2 separate regions of the Homo sapiens genome follow, and region 2 is linked to region 1. Evidence: promoter capture Hi-C in 16 types of primary human blood cells and fetal thymus (Javierre and others, 2016). All regions are on one chromosome and are shown on one strand. The core of a region is centred on a gene start or on the middle of the fragment in contact, and the rest is flanking DNA. Distances in the headings are between cores, read along the strand shown. Region 1 has its middle 8.4 kb from the start of PDK3. Region 2 holds the start of KLHL15 (kelch like family member 15).

The links. The method cuts DNA at HindIII sites, captures the fragments that hold promoters and counts their contacts. A CHiCAGO score of 5 or more calls a contact.
Region 2: a contact is called between the fragment with the promoter of KLHL15 here and a fragment that was not itself captured in region 1, in 1 of 17 cell types (activated CD4 T cells). The highest score is 5.1, in activated CD4 T cells.

What each region holds. Positions count from the first base shown.
Region 1 is chrX:24,453,383-24,460,467 of GRCh38, reverse strand. No RefSeq gene overlaps it. Among named protein-coding and RNA genes, the nearest start is that of PDK3, 8.4 kb to the left of the region's middle. The HindIII fragment of the contact is 1,133 bases long and covers 2,158-3,290 here.
Region 2 is chrX:24,023,858-24,030,942 of GRCh38, reverse strand. KLHL15 (kelch like family member 15) reads left to right here and starts at 3,757. Exons shown (of 4, transcript NM_030624.3): 1 at 3,757-3,803; 2 at 5,885-6,086. RefSeq lists enhancers at 2,678-3,177, 4,385-4,888, 4,889-5,393 and silencers at 5,056-5,155, 5,166-5,605, 5,686-5,755, 5,766-5,915, 5,926-6,005. The HindIII fragment of the contact is 3,234 bases long and covers 900-4,133 here.

The DNA.
Region 1 (7,085 bases), core at 1,475-3,974:
CTCTCTCTCTCTCTCCTATGATACTCCCCTTGTGGAGCCTTGAGATGACAAAGCTCTAGCCAACACCTTGATTGACACCTCATTGTAACCTTGAGAGACACCTCATTGTAACCTTGAGAGAGACCCTGAGTCAGAACCACTCAACTAAGCAGCTCCCGGACTCCTCACCCCGAGAAATCCTCAGTTTGTTGTAATAAGTGTTTGTGGTTTCCAGCTGCTAAGTTTCTGGATAATTCGTTACACAGCAATAGTTAACTAATATGCAAGCCCTCCAGGTAATTCTTTTTTTTTTTTTTTTTGAGACAGACTCACTCTGTCACCCAGGCTGGAGTGCAGTGGCATGATCTCAGCTCATTGCAACCTCTGCCTCCCAGGTTCAAGCAATTCTCGTGCCTCAGCCTCCTGAGTAGCTGGGATTACAGGTGTGCACCACCACGCCTAGCTAATTTTTTGTATTTTTAGTAGACACAGGGTTTCGCCATGTTGCCCAGGCTGGTCTCGAACTCCTGAGCTCGGGCAATCTGCCCACCTCCACCTCCCAAAATGCTAGGATTACAGGCATGAGGCACCGCGCCCGGCCACCTGAGGGTAATTCTGATGCACCTCAGTGTGAAAATCAGTGTCCTCCCCTAACCTACTCTAACCTAACTCTCTATTCCTTCCAGCTAATGCCTCAGATCTCAGTGTAATCATCACTTAAACATAAAGGGAGGCCTTCCCTGACCATAAAGTCAATTCCTTCTCCTTGCCATATGTTTTCTCGATTCGCTCTACTTCCCACTGTAACTCTCCAAACGCTTTGTTATAGTTTGATCAATGCCTGTCTTCTACACTAGACTTAAGCCTTGGCAGGGCTGGGACCAAGTCTGGTGTACTCACTGCTGCATCCCCAGTGCCCAGCATAACTAACAGTCACTGTTCAGGTTCACAACAAACATGTATTAAATACATAAAAATCAACAAAAATAACAACCAAACCTATCCCAAATCGCACTCCTTCTAAAAGCTGCTATAGAACACTAGAACTAGGCAAAGGTAGTTTTCTGAGTAATTTAAATAATAATGGACACTTTATTAAATCATAATATGATGCAGCCAAAATCCAAAGTAGAGTGGAATAGATGAGAAAAAAAGATCTATCTCCCTAACTAGTGGATCTTGTTACAAAATACCTCTGTCACCATTTGACAGGGGTATAATATCCTGCTCTCCTTGTATTTTCTTCCTCCTTCTCTCTTCTCAGTTAATGTTTTTTTGAGCACCTATTGTGTGCTATGTGAAAGCACTTATGTTGTCTCTTCACAGTGAGTATGATGGATGAATATTATCCTCATTTTACAGGTGAGTGAGCTAAGACACAGAAAGGTTAAAATAATTTAAGTTTATACAACTTGTAAATGGCAGTCTGGGTTTGAATCCAGGTCTCCTGGCTCTCAATTCGATGTTCTTTCATAATACCAGCCTGCCTTTTTAAAACAAAATAGACTTTATTTTTAAAGAATTTTTAGGTTCGCAGCAAAATTCAATGGAAAACACAGGGAATTCCCACATATCCCCCTGAGACACACATCCTCTTCCACCATCAACATCCCCTACCAGACTGGTACATTTATTACAATCAAGGGACCCATATTAACACATCATTATCATCCAAAGTCCATAGTTTACATTAGGATTCACTCTTACTGTTGTACATTTTGTGGGTTTGGACAAATGTATAATGACAAGTATCCACCACTATAGTATCAAACAGAATAGTTTCGCTGTCCTAAAACTCCTCTCTGTTCTGCCTATTCAACCCTCCCTTTCTTCTGACCCCTGGAAACCACTGATCTTTTCACTGTCTCTAATTTTGCCTTTTCCAGAATGTCATATAGTTGGAATCCTGCAGGATGTGGCTTTTTCAGACTGGCTTCTTTCACGTCACCATATGCATTTAAAGTTTCTCAGTGTCTTTTCATGGCTTGATAGTTCATTTCTTTTTAGGGCTAAATAATATTTCACCATGTTGGTTTTATCACAGTTTATTATTAATTCACCTACTGAAGGATGTCTTGGTTGATTCCAAGATTTGCCAGGCACCTTTCGATTTTAAGAGTGGGAAGTGAGATGGTGAAAATAAGTGAACTGGTGGATCAAGGGTTACTTAATAAAGCTTTACTAAATGTACATCTTTAATCAAATATGTGTATGACTTGAAGGAGTAGCTCTTTTCTCCCGTGTCTAGATTCTAGATTTTTGAATTTTTTAATTCTTATGGATGTATAATAGCTGTATGTACTTATGGGGTAGGCTTTTTTCAGCAAACTCTTTTAGATGGCACAAATCCTCTTGAAGCCCTGTTTATCCTGGTCCTTTTGTTTCTAATTAAGGGGTTTCAGCCTTTATATTCCTCCAAAAGAGGTCAGAAAAGAATTTTTTGTTTGTTTGTTTGTTTGTTTGTTTGAGATGGAGTCTCGCTCTGTCGCCCAGGCTGGAGTGCAGTGGTGCGATCTCGGTTCACTGCAACCTCCACCTCCCAGGTTCAAGCGATTCTCCTGCCTCAGCCTCCCAAATAGCTGGGATTACAGGCGCATGCCACTGTGCCTGGCTAATTTTTTTCTTTTTTTCTTTTTCTTTTTTTTTTTGTATTTTTAGTAGAGATGGGGTTTCACCATGTTGGCCAGGCTGGTCTTGAACTCCTGATCTCAGGTGATCCATCCGCCTCGGCCTCCTAAAGTGCTGGGATTACAGGCATGAGCCACCACGCCTGGCCAGAAAAGATTTTAAGTACAGGGATGATGTGACAGGATAATTTATTGAGAAATTAAATCTATGTTTTGATTTTGCTGCTCTTGGAGGTGCAGAAGAAAGGAGTCGCTTATCTTCCCCAGCCTAAAAGACAGTGGAGTCTTTGGCTCCGGGTTTTGGGCTGCTATGCCTTGACGATATCATTAGCTGCTTATGTGCAATGGGGTGCTTTGGTTTCTACGACTGAAAACAGAAGTTGGAAAATATAGGAGATATTTTGGTTACCTCTATAAAATCCATTCCTTCTTCTATTGGTAACTACTCCCACTTTTGTTCACTCCCCCAGGCAGTTCATTTGTGCCTTGGGAAGAAAATAGCCCACCTCAGCTGTAGTCATGATATATATGGGTCAATCTACAAACTAATGAGCTTAATTCTGATTGCTGGCCATGGCTCCTGGTTCAAGGATAGATACTTGACCCAATTTAGGCCAATGATATAGGAGGAGACATTTCCTGGGAGCTTCTGTGAAAGAAACTTGCTGCTATTCTCAGGAAGCTTCTAGAAGCATCTCTCTCAACCTCTCACTTTTCTTCTTCTCTCTTCCTACCTCATTCCCATCTCTGGGTGCAATCAAGGAAGCATGTAGTACCTGGAGTGCAGTAGACAACCATTTTGTGGCCAGAGTGAAGCTGACTTTGCAGAAAGCAGAGCAGAAATGGGAAGAAACTGGGTCCTCAATAACGTTGTCAGGGCACTAAATCAATCCAACCTGAAACCTTCTCTGAACTTCCAGTTACATGGGCCAGTACATTTTTATGGTTTAGGCCACCTTAAGCAGATTGATATTACTAGAGTCAAAACTGTCACAGGGCTGGGAGCAGTGGCTCACGCCTGTAATCCCAACACTTTGGGAGGCCAAGGCAAGTGGATTGCTTGAGCCCAGGAGTTCGAGACCAGCCTGGGCAACATGGCAAAACCCCATCTCTACTAAAAATACAAAAATTAGCTGGGCATGGTGGCACCCACCTACTACTGAGGAGGCCGAGTGGGGAGGATCATCTGAGCTGGAGAGGTTGAGGCTGCAGTGAGCTGTGATCTCGCCACTGTACTCCAGCCTAAGCGACAGAGCAAGACCCCATCTCAAAATAAAAACTAAAAAAGTATCCTAACTTTCATGCCAAGCATACTTCAGGTATCCTGTATATACACATGGGGACAAGCCCCCCAGTAATGGCTGCTGTTGGGCATCTTGCCAGCTCTGCACGTGGGAACGCAAACCCAGATTTAATTTGATTTTTTAAAATAAAGAAAGATAATGTTTCTTGTGCCCAGGGGTTATGAACAAAATCAGATCCTATAATACCCAGAAGGGAAACAATAACAGAGGATGGTTAAATAAATCATGGCACACATACAATGAACCATTATACTGTCTTTAAAGGTTCTTTGTATGAAGTCTATATGAGAACACGGAAAATACAAACATTATAATAAGAGGGAAAAAGGAAGATACTAAATTATGTATTAAATCTGAGCTTCAGGCAGGGCTCAGTGGCTCATGCCTGTAATCCCAGCACTTTGGAAGGCGGAGGCGAGCGGATCACTTGAGCCCAGGAGTTCGTGACCAGCCTAGGCAACGTGACAAAACCCCATCCCTACAAAAAACAAAAACAAAAAAATCAGCCAGGCCTGGCGACTTACACCTACAGTCCCAGCTACTTGGGAAGCTGAGGTAGGAGGATGGATTGAGCTCAGGAGATCGAGGCTACAGTGAGACAAGATCACGCCACTGCACCCCAGTCTGGGTGACAGAGTGAGACCCTGTCTCTAAATAAATAAATAAATACATAAATAAACTGAGCTTAGCTAGGAAGAGATCACCTAAACCTTTTTTATCGAAAGGTACAGAAGGAAATACAGCAAAATGCCAACAAAACAACCACCACTAATGAATGCCTTGAGTGATATCATGGTTTGATTTGACATTGAGAAAATCCTTAGAATCCCTGGGTGGCAATGTGTTCTAAAAATCTGAACCAAGGATAGGTAACATGAATGACTTTATTCAGTTCTCCTTCAACCCAAAAGATGAAGGTTAGTTATACAGAGACTTGTCAGAATCCACTGCTCTTCTGTTTTTATCCAAAACATGATCTTATCTGTTTCTATGAATATTTACTTAGTCCCATAATTAACAGAGCATGAACCATTATTTGCAGAGGACTCTGACATCTGAGGTGCCACCTATTATCTAGAAAACTTGGCATTTCTTCCATCAGCATTTAGTAAAGCCTTCTTTCATCCAAGCTGTTTGCCAAAGTACAGCCCTTACCCCCACCCCCAACCATCACAACCACCACCAGCCTCCAAATTGCTGTGATTTCCATCAGGGAGGGTTGTGTAGCTACCAGGAGGACCTCTTCCCTAGGCCACCAGGGTCTTATTGTCAGCCCCAGCTGTTTTCACCTTGGCCCCTCCACTTGATCTCATTTTTCTGGAGGTATTAAAGTTTTGAGAAAAAGAAAAACAGGCCAGGCGCGGTGGCTCATGCCTGTAATCCCAGCACTTTGGGAGGTCGAGGCGAGAGGATCACTTGAAGCTAGGCCAGCCTGGCCAACATGGTGAAACCTCATTTCTACTAAAAATACAAAAACTAGCCAGGCGGTGTTGCGTGCCTGTAATCCCAGGTACTCGGGAGGCTGAGCCAGGAGAATCGCTTGAACCCAGGAGGTGGAGGTTGCAGTGAGCCGAGATCATGCCACAGCACTCCAGCCTGGGCAACAGAGCAAGACTTCGTCTCAAAAAAAAAAAAGAAAGAAAGAAAGAGAAAAACAGCCATTCTTCACAAGGAATTTAGGGATTCCTATTCAAGAATAATTTGTACCTTGTATCATCTGATGCATAAAATGACTATAGTATTAGTGATATTAAAGGAACAGAACTGGGGCCAAATGCTTCCCACAATTTGAAGTGTGCCATAGAATAGAATAGGCCAGATTTCAAATCTGTAGAGATTCATCCTCATGAGAAGAGCTAGAATTGCTCTGCCCAACAGAGTACCACTAGCTACATGGCGTTGAAATGTGGCTGGTCCAAATTGAGACATGTCATATGTATAAAATTCACACCAGATTTCAGACTTGGTATGAAAAAGGATGTAAACTATCTCATCAATAATTTTTTAGAGATGAGGGTCTTGCTATGTTACCCAGGCCTGCCTCAAATTCCTGGACTCAAGCTATTCTCCAGCATCAGCCTCCCAAGTAGCTGGGATTACAGGCATGAGCCATTGTGTCTGGCTACATTACTAATTTTTATAATGATTACATGTTGAAATGATAACTGATATGGTTTGGCTGTGTCCCCATCCAAATCTTATCTTAAATTGTAGCTCCCAGCCGGGCGCAGTGGCTCACGCCTATAATCCCAGTACTTTGGGAGGCCAAGGCGGGTGAATTACGAGGTCAGGAATTCGAGACAAGCCTGACCAACATGAAACCCTGTCTCTATTAAAAATACAAAAAAAAATTAGCCAGGTGTAGTGGTGCGTGCCTGTAATCCCAGCTACTCAGGAGGCTGAGGCAGGAGAATCGCTTGAACCTAAGAGGCAGAGATTGCAGTGAGCCGAGATCACGGCATCGCACTCCAGCCTGGGTGACAGAGTGAGACTCCGTCTCAAAAAAAAAAAAAAAAAAAATGTAGCTCCCTTAATTCCCACATGTTGTGGGAGGGACCCCATGGGAGACAATTGAATCATGGAGGCGGTTTCTCCCATACTGTTCTTGTGGTAATAAATAAGTCTCATGAGATCTGATTATAAGGGATTTCCCCTTTCACTTGACTCATTTTTCTCTTTGTCTGCTGCCATGTAAGATGTGCCTTTCACCTTCTGCCATGATTGTGAGGCTGCCCCAGCCATGTGGAACTGTGAGTCCATTAAACTTCTTTTTCTTTATAAATTACCCAGTCTCGGGTCTTTATCAGCAGTGTGAGAATGGACTAATACAATAACCTTTTGGGTATATTGATTAAATATAACATATTGTTAAAATTGATTTTATCTATTTATTGATTTCTTTTTACCCTTTTAAAAGTGTGCCTTCTAGAAAATGTAAAATTACCTCAGTGGCTCACATTTGTGGCTCATATTAGATTTCTACTGGACAGTGCTGTGCTAGGTATATTGCAGAGTGCCCTTTATACTTCTATTTATTTGGGAAGGTAACTAGCATTAGCTTCTGGACTTCTTTGTGCCAGGGCTGTGTTAGGTGCGGTTACCTCTTTTAATCCTCATATCATTTACAGATGAAGAAAACTGAGGCCTAAAAAGTTAAGTAAGCTGCCTAAGGTCA
Region 2 (7,085 bases), core at 2,508-5,007, 430 kb after region 1:
ATTTAGTTAAAATGGTGACATTCGTTTCATCTTTCATTGATAGTGGATGTTTAGCAATTACAGTACTTTTCTATCTGGCTTAGCATAGCACACTCTTTGTCTTACTCTTATCTCACTGGCTACTCCTTCTCTGTCTCCTTGACAGTCCTGTATCTTCTCCCGGATGACTCCCTCACATTGCTGCGCCACAAAGCCCAGTCCTCGCTGTACACTCAGCCCCTTGATAATCTCATAACTGAAGCTGAAGCATAATGTTATTTTTCATTGGTTCATAAGGAGCACAAAGATGATAACTTTCTTTTTAAGGTTTTCATCTACAAGGGGGCATTGTCTACACCATGTTTCAAGGTAAATATATTCCATTAAAATGGCAATATTCATTGCATCTTTTATTGATAGTGAATGTTTAGCAACTTCCAGTAACTTTCTCTCTAGCTTGTAGCATTCCACACTCTTGTCTGATCTCCTGGAACCAGTTCCCTCTGTTCTCCAGGATGGCTCCCTGGCCCAGGCACACCTCTGGGCCCAGTCCTTGCAGCTTTTCCTTCCTCCCCACTCCCTTCAAAACTGATCCTCCTGAGGTCTTTGCGATGTCAGGAAATGACAATTCCATCCTTCCAGTTGCTCAGGACAGAAAACCTTGATGTTATCCATGACTCCTCTCTTTTCCTTTATCCCTACCTCCAGGAAATCCTGTTGGCTCTTCCTCCAGAATATTTGCAAAGTCTAAGCACTTCTCACCATCTCCACTGTAGCCTCCATTCCATTCCATTCCATTCCATTCCATTATCGGAATAGTCTCCTAACCCATCTCCCTGCTTCTGCCCTAGTCCACCTAAATTCTGTTACTTACATAGCAGCCTGAGTGTCAAATCATATTGGTCCTCTTCACCAAAGCTTCCAGTGGTTCCCAATTTCTCACAGGCCAAAGACCTTACAATTGCCTACCAGGTTTTATACACTCTGGTCCCTAATTTCATTGAAGGCAAGGCTCAAATGATACCTCCTACTTTGATCATCCCAGTTAAAACTGGAACACCCTTCCCCAGCTCTGTTATTTTCCATAGCATTTATCACATCCCGATTTGGGGAATAGACGCCACAGAATTAGTCCAGGCTGACCACCACACAAACAACAAATCTAAAAATAGCAAACTCTACCACCACCTGGATTGGGAGTGGGTTAATACAGAGTCCAGAGTTGCTACAACATATTATCTAAAAGAAACAGGATGTACAAAGAAACAGCAAAGTGTGACCCATACTCAGGAAAATAAGGAGTCAACAGAAAACTACCTCTGAGGGTTCAGTGTTACTGTGATCAGTGCAATTATAGTTTTTTTTTGTCCTGCATTTTCACATAAGATTATATTAGAAACAATTTCATAAGTCATTAAAACTTCTATGAAAATAATATATATTTTTTTTGAGGCAGAGTCTCCCTCTTTCGCCCAGTCTCCCGGGTTCAAGCACTTCTCCTGCTTCAACCTCCCAAATAGCTGGGATTACAGGCATGTGCCACCACGCCTGGCTAATTTCTTCGTATTTTTAGTAGAGATGGGGTTTCCCGTGTTGGCCAGGCTGGTCTCGAACTCCTGACCTCAAGTAATCCACCCACCTCAGCCTCTCAAAGTGCTGGGATTACAGGCGTGAGCCACCGCACCCGGCCACATTTACCACATTCTAACAGGCCACATAATTTGCTTATTTATTTTATTACCTGACACATGTAATCCGTACAAGGGCTAGAGTTTTCATATGTTTTATTCACTGATGGATCCCCAGTGGGTAGAACAAGACTTGGCATGTACTAGGCACTTACACATACTTATGGAATGAATAAATAAATAGTATAGTAGATTGCAAACCAACAATTTGTGGAATTAAGTAGGAATAAAAATACAACTATGTGAAGATCATTTACTATGTTAATATAATTACATGGTACAGTGGAAAGATCATGGGGTGGCTGGGTGCGGTTGATCACGCCTGTAATCCCAACACTTTGGGAGGCTGAGGTGGATGGATTACTAGAGGTCAGGAGTTCGAGACCAGCCTGGCCAACATGGGAAAACCCATCTCTACTAAAGTTACAAAATTTAGCTGGGCGTGGTGGTGTGTGCCTGTAGTCCCAGCTACTTGGGAGGCTGAGGCAGGAGAATCACTTGAACCTGGGAGGCAGAGGTTGCAGTGAGCCAATCACGCCACTGCACTCCAGCCTGGATGATAGAGGGAGACTCTGTCTCAAAAAAAAGAAAAAAAAAAAAAGTAAAAAGAAAAGTGATTACCAAGACAACTACCACAGACTGGGAATTTCTGAAAAGCCTCAACTTTTCTTTTCTTTTTTTTTTTTTTGAGACAGCGTCTAGTTCCGTTGTCCAGGCTGGAGTGCAGTGGTGCAATCTCGACTCACTGCAACCTCTGCCTCCTGGGCTCAAGCCATACTCCTACCTCAGCCTCCTGAGTAGCTGGGACCGCAGGCCCGCACCACCATGCCAGCTAATTTTTTGTATTTTTAATAGAGACGGGGTTTCACTATGTTCGTCAGGCTGGTTTCCAACTCCTGACCTCTAATGATCCTTCCGCCTCGGCCTCCCAAAGTGCTGGAATTACAGGCGTGAGCCACCACGCCTGGCCTCAATTTCTTAAAAAGCAAAAACAGGAGGGAGGAGGAGGGTATGCAGTATCCTAAATCCTCAGAACCCCTGGGGAAGAACCTCATTCCAACTCCACCAGCACTCCCAGGCCCAGGCTTCTAGCATGCTTCCGACCTCGCTAGCTGCTAAATAAATAGCTATTGAGGAATGTGTATTCTCAAATACTTAGGCTAGAGGGCTAAGAAAAGACAGCTTCCATCTACCTCTGTGGGACTCTACCAGTGTGAAAGGATACTCTCAAGGTATTTAACAACTCCCATTACAGTCCAGAAATTGGTGGGGAAAGTTAAAATATATTTTCTTTTCTTTTTTTTTTTTGAGACGGTGTTTTTGCTCTGTTGCCTGAGCTGGAGTGCAGTGGCTCACGCTTGTAATCCCAGCACTTTGGGAGGCCAAGGCGGGCGATCATGAGGTCGGGGGTTTGAGACCAGCCTAGCCAACACAGTGAAACCCCGTCTCTACTAAAAATACAAAAGTTAGCTGGGCACGGTGGCGAGCGCCTGTAATCCCAGCTACTCGGGAGGCTGAGGCAGGATAATCGCTTGAACCCGGGAGGCGGAGGTTGCAGTCAGCCGAGATCCACTGCACCCCAGCCTGAGCGACAGACTCCATCTCAGAAAAAAACAAGCAAACAAAAACAAAACAAACAAACAAACAAAAACAAGAAAAGAAAAGTTAGCCGAGCATGGTGGGGCACGTCTGTGGTCCTAGCTATTCGGGAGGCTGAGGTGGAAGGATTGCTTGAGCCCGGGAGGTCAAGGCTGCAGTGAGCTGAGATCATGCCTCTGCCCTCCAGCCTGGCCGAGAGTGAGACTGTCTCAAAAAAAAAATAATAATAATAACATAAAAATAAGAAATAAGAGTGAAAGAGGCATCATTGATTGAAGATAACTTGGGGAGGGGTTCATATAGTAAACGTATAGATTGATTGAAAGACACAGCCCAGTTTTAAAACTACATAAATATCCAAAAAAGCACATTTGAAATTCCACGAGACCTTGCAATGTCAAAATAAGGAGGGACGGGAAGCACGGTGATCACACAATGGCTTATGACATACACTCACTACATTTATACCTGGTACAAAGAGCGCAGAAACGTTTCAACTCTTGCTTGAATCAAGAACAGAAGCCTCTCTTTAGACAGGTCAGTGCCACATAGTAATGTATAGCTTAAAATGTTAGTTAATGTACAAAAATCCAAACTCAGCGTTTAGATGTTCGGGAATAATGCATGAACATTTAAATATTCAGAAGTGGAATGTATGCATTTTTAAAGTTTATTTTATGATTTAATTTTAAAAATTTGTTTTAATGTGAAATTCTGGGGTAATTTGTCATGTAGTAATAGATACAAATATGGCAAGCAGGGATTTTTAAATAATGAACAGAAATATCTTAAAGGAGCTATTGGAAAAGATGGAAAGAAAGTGTGAACAACTTGGGAATTTCAGTGTCTTACAGTTTTTTTAAAGCTTGTTATAGTTTAAATCGGAATAAGGAAGCGTATTTCCAAAAGATTGAAGTGATTGTGTTATCTCTCCCACGAAGTAGTCTACTTCAGCAAAACAGTACACCGTGTGCTATTTTGGCCTCTTGGGAAAGATGGTATGTTCAAGTTTGCTAGAAAGAGATAATTATCGCTTTTAGCGACACCTCTCACGGAAAGTTCATCGGGATATTGGTCTAGAGAGAAAATGGCGGCGGGGGGTGGGGGTGGGGGAAGCCGAAATACCTCAGTTTAGGATCTGCTATGGGCAATGGATGCCCTAATTTAAGGTTAATTGTAGATCCACGGGCTTCCAACTGTGTATTTCCGTCATCTACACTTTTCCCAGAAAGAGATGCCATAATAAATTTACAAAACAGTCCTATAGTCTAGTTTTATATTCTTGTCAAGAAAAGGTAATATTTAAAAAGTACTAGCTAGAATTCTATAAAAAACGAACAACAAAAATCACTGCCCTCTGAATGTTCGTTCTTGATTATTTTGACGCAAGTAGAGACAGCTTTTTTAAATCCGGCATTATCTCCGGGTGGTGCAGACATGCAATTTTTTATGAATTTTCCCACCCTTGGGAAATCGATTTCTGAAACGTGTAATTGTTGTGCAGTAAGCCAAGTGGACAGTGACGCAATAGTCCACTGCAAGTTGCCTTACAAAAAATGATGTCATTTGGCGCAGATCTAGTCACTTTTATAACAGGTAGCTATGGAAAAGCTCCCTCCACGTTGTCCCCGATTCCCCCACCCCCACCGTGGCCAAGATGCAAAAAGACACTTTCCTGGCTTCCTAGCCCTCAACTTGTCGAGGGTGGGCGCACCGCAGTGGCTCAGGGCCCATCGCTCGTGCAGGCGGAGAGAGACCGCTGCAAGGGGACGAGGACAGCTGAGTGTCCTCAGCCCCGACGGCGGCGCCGCGGGGGAAGCTGCGTCGGGCCCAGTCCAGGGCCGCGACGCCCGGCCGCCTGTTTTCCTCGGTGGGAAACCGCTGGCGTGGCGGGCCGGCAGCCGGGACGCGGGGCGCCGCGGGCGCGGGACAGCCTTCCCCGCCCCCCCTTCCCCCCCGTTCCCACACCCGCTCCCGCTCCCGTGGCGCCGGAAGTGACGCGTTTTGGGCTGAAAGATGGCGGCATTGGCGCTCGACCAGGGGGAAGGTAAACACCCGCCAGGCCACGGGCTGGCCCCCTCGGGGCGCCAGCAGGGGCCGAGGGGGGGGCCTCCCGGGCCAGCTCCCCGCCCCCAACGGCTTCCCACCCTCCGCCCTCTCTCCCAGCGTGGCGGCCTTCCGCGTCAAGACGACAGCGCACTGGGCCCCCTGCCGGCCAGCCCCGCCTCCCTGGGCGGGCCCCGGGCGGCTCCCGCGGCCCGCAGGGGGCGCGCGGCCCGGAGCGGCCCCCGGCTCGTGGCCCCGCACGCCCCGCCCCTTCCCCGCCCCTTTCCCGCCTTCCTCCACCCCCGGCGTGGGTGATCCCGAGGCTCGGCGCGCTTCGGGGCAGAAGCCCAGAGACGCCGTCCTCGACGCTTCCTCGGCTGGTGCTTCTGTCTCTGCCTGCTGCCCCCCAGCCCTTTTCCCCGCCCGCGGCCCCAGTCGGCCCTCCCGCCGAGCCCCGTCGGGTGCTGCGAGGCCCCCGGCGTTGGCAAGGTCGGTCCGGGCCCCGACGCCGCGCCGCCTCGTGCGGAGCCCGACTGTCTGGTTTCTCGACTCAGCGCTGTCTTCTTTCCCAGGACTTATCCAGAGGGGGCTGCAGGCGAGCACTCTCGTGCCCCGCCGGAGCGACCCGGCTCGTGCCGGGAGCGGCTGCTCGTAGACGTCCGAGGAGCCTGCCGAGTGCCGTCCCGGCGCCCGACCGCCCACCCATCGGCCCGCTGGCCCGGTTCTTCCTGATGCAGACTGCCGTCCACTAGAGGCTGGACAGGACCCCCCGAGGTACGTAGCCGCCCCTGGCCGCCGGCCTGCGGAGCCCGGGCTTCGCCCGCGGCCCCGAGCTAGGCACGAATTCGCCGGCCCTCTCTGCACGGACCCGAGTCAAACATTTGGTAGACGCCGGGACCTCGTTTGTCTTCGAGTTTACTTAAATTGTTTGAAATGTAATTTTTTTTTCCAGAGAGAGCGAGAAAGAAAAAGGAAGAAGCATAATTCAGCCATTTTTTGCAGCACACAGCTGCAGGTACCATGATTATTTTTTGCCTAACCCGTTCCTTCCCTTTAACAATTCAATTTATGCCTGAAATAGAACTATGCAAAATGCGAGGCATAAAACTAGGAATCGGAAGGTCTGGGTTCGACTTGGGTGACTCTGAGAAAAAATCGCGTACCGAGCCTTGGTTTCTTATCTATGAAATATAGTCGGTACTACCAACATCGCAGGGTTGAGAGGACTATATGAGGTCATATATGTGAAAATAATCCTTAACTGTAGAGTGTTGTAAGAATGCAAGGCCGTTTTTTAAGTAACCTTTGGTAGAGTGGTTAATGTAGTGGCTAACTGTTGCTGCCTCTTTATTTCTATATTATAAATATAAGCAAATAAGTACGGAATAATAGTAAAGCAGTGCTGTGAATCCATAGATCTGTAATAGTCACGTTGCTTGGCCTTCCTCCTACGAAGTGCTAACTGCTTATTTAAATAACGGTATTCTTTAATTCAAATGTAACGTTACCGTAGGGGCTTTGCTTTTCATCGTTCTAGGCCGCTTTAGGCCCCTTTTCTTACTCCAAATATTTAACACCTTACATTTGTTAGTCTTTTCTGTTTTCCGAATTTGTTTGCCTTTGTTAATCTGATTAAGTGGTAATTTAGAAAATGCTTTGCAGACATATATGCCCTAATTTTAATGCCTGTTTTTCATATCTAGGGAGCAGGATGCTTGAATACTTCTACTAATTTGAAAATTGGTTTTGAAGAGCTTATCAATGCATTCATGT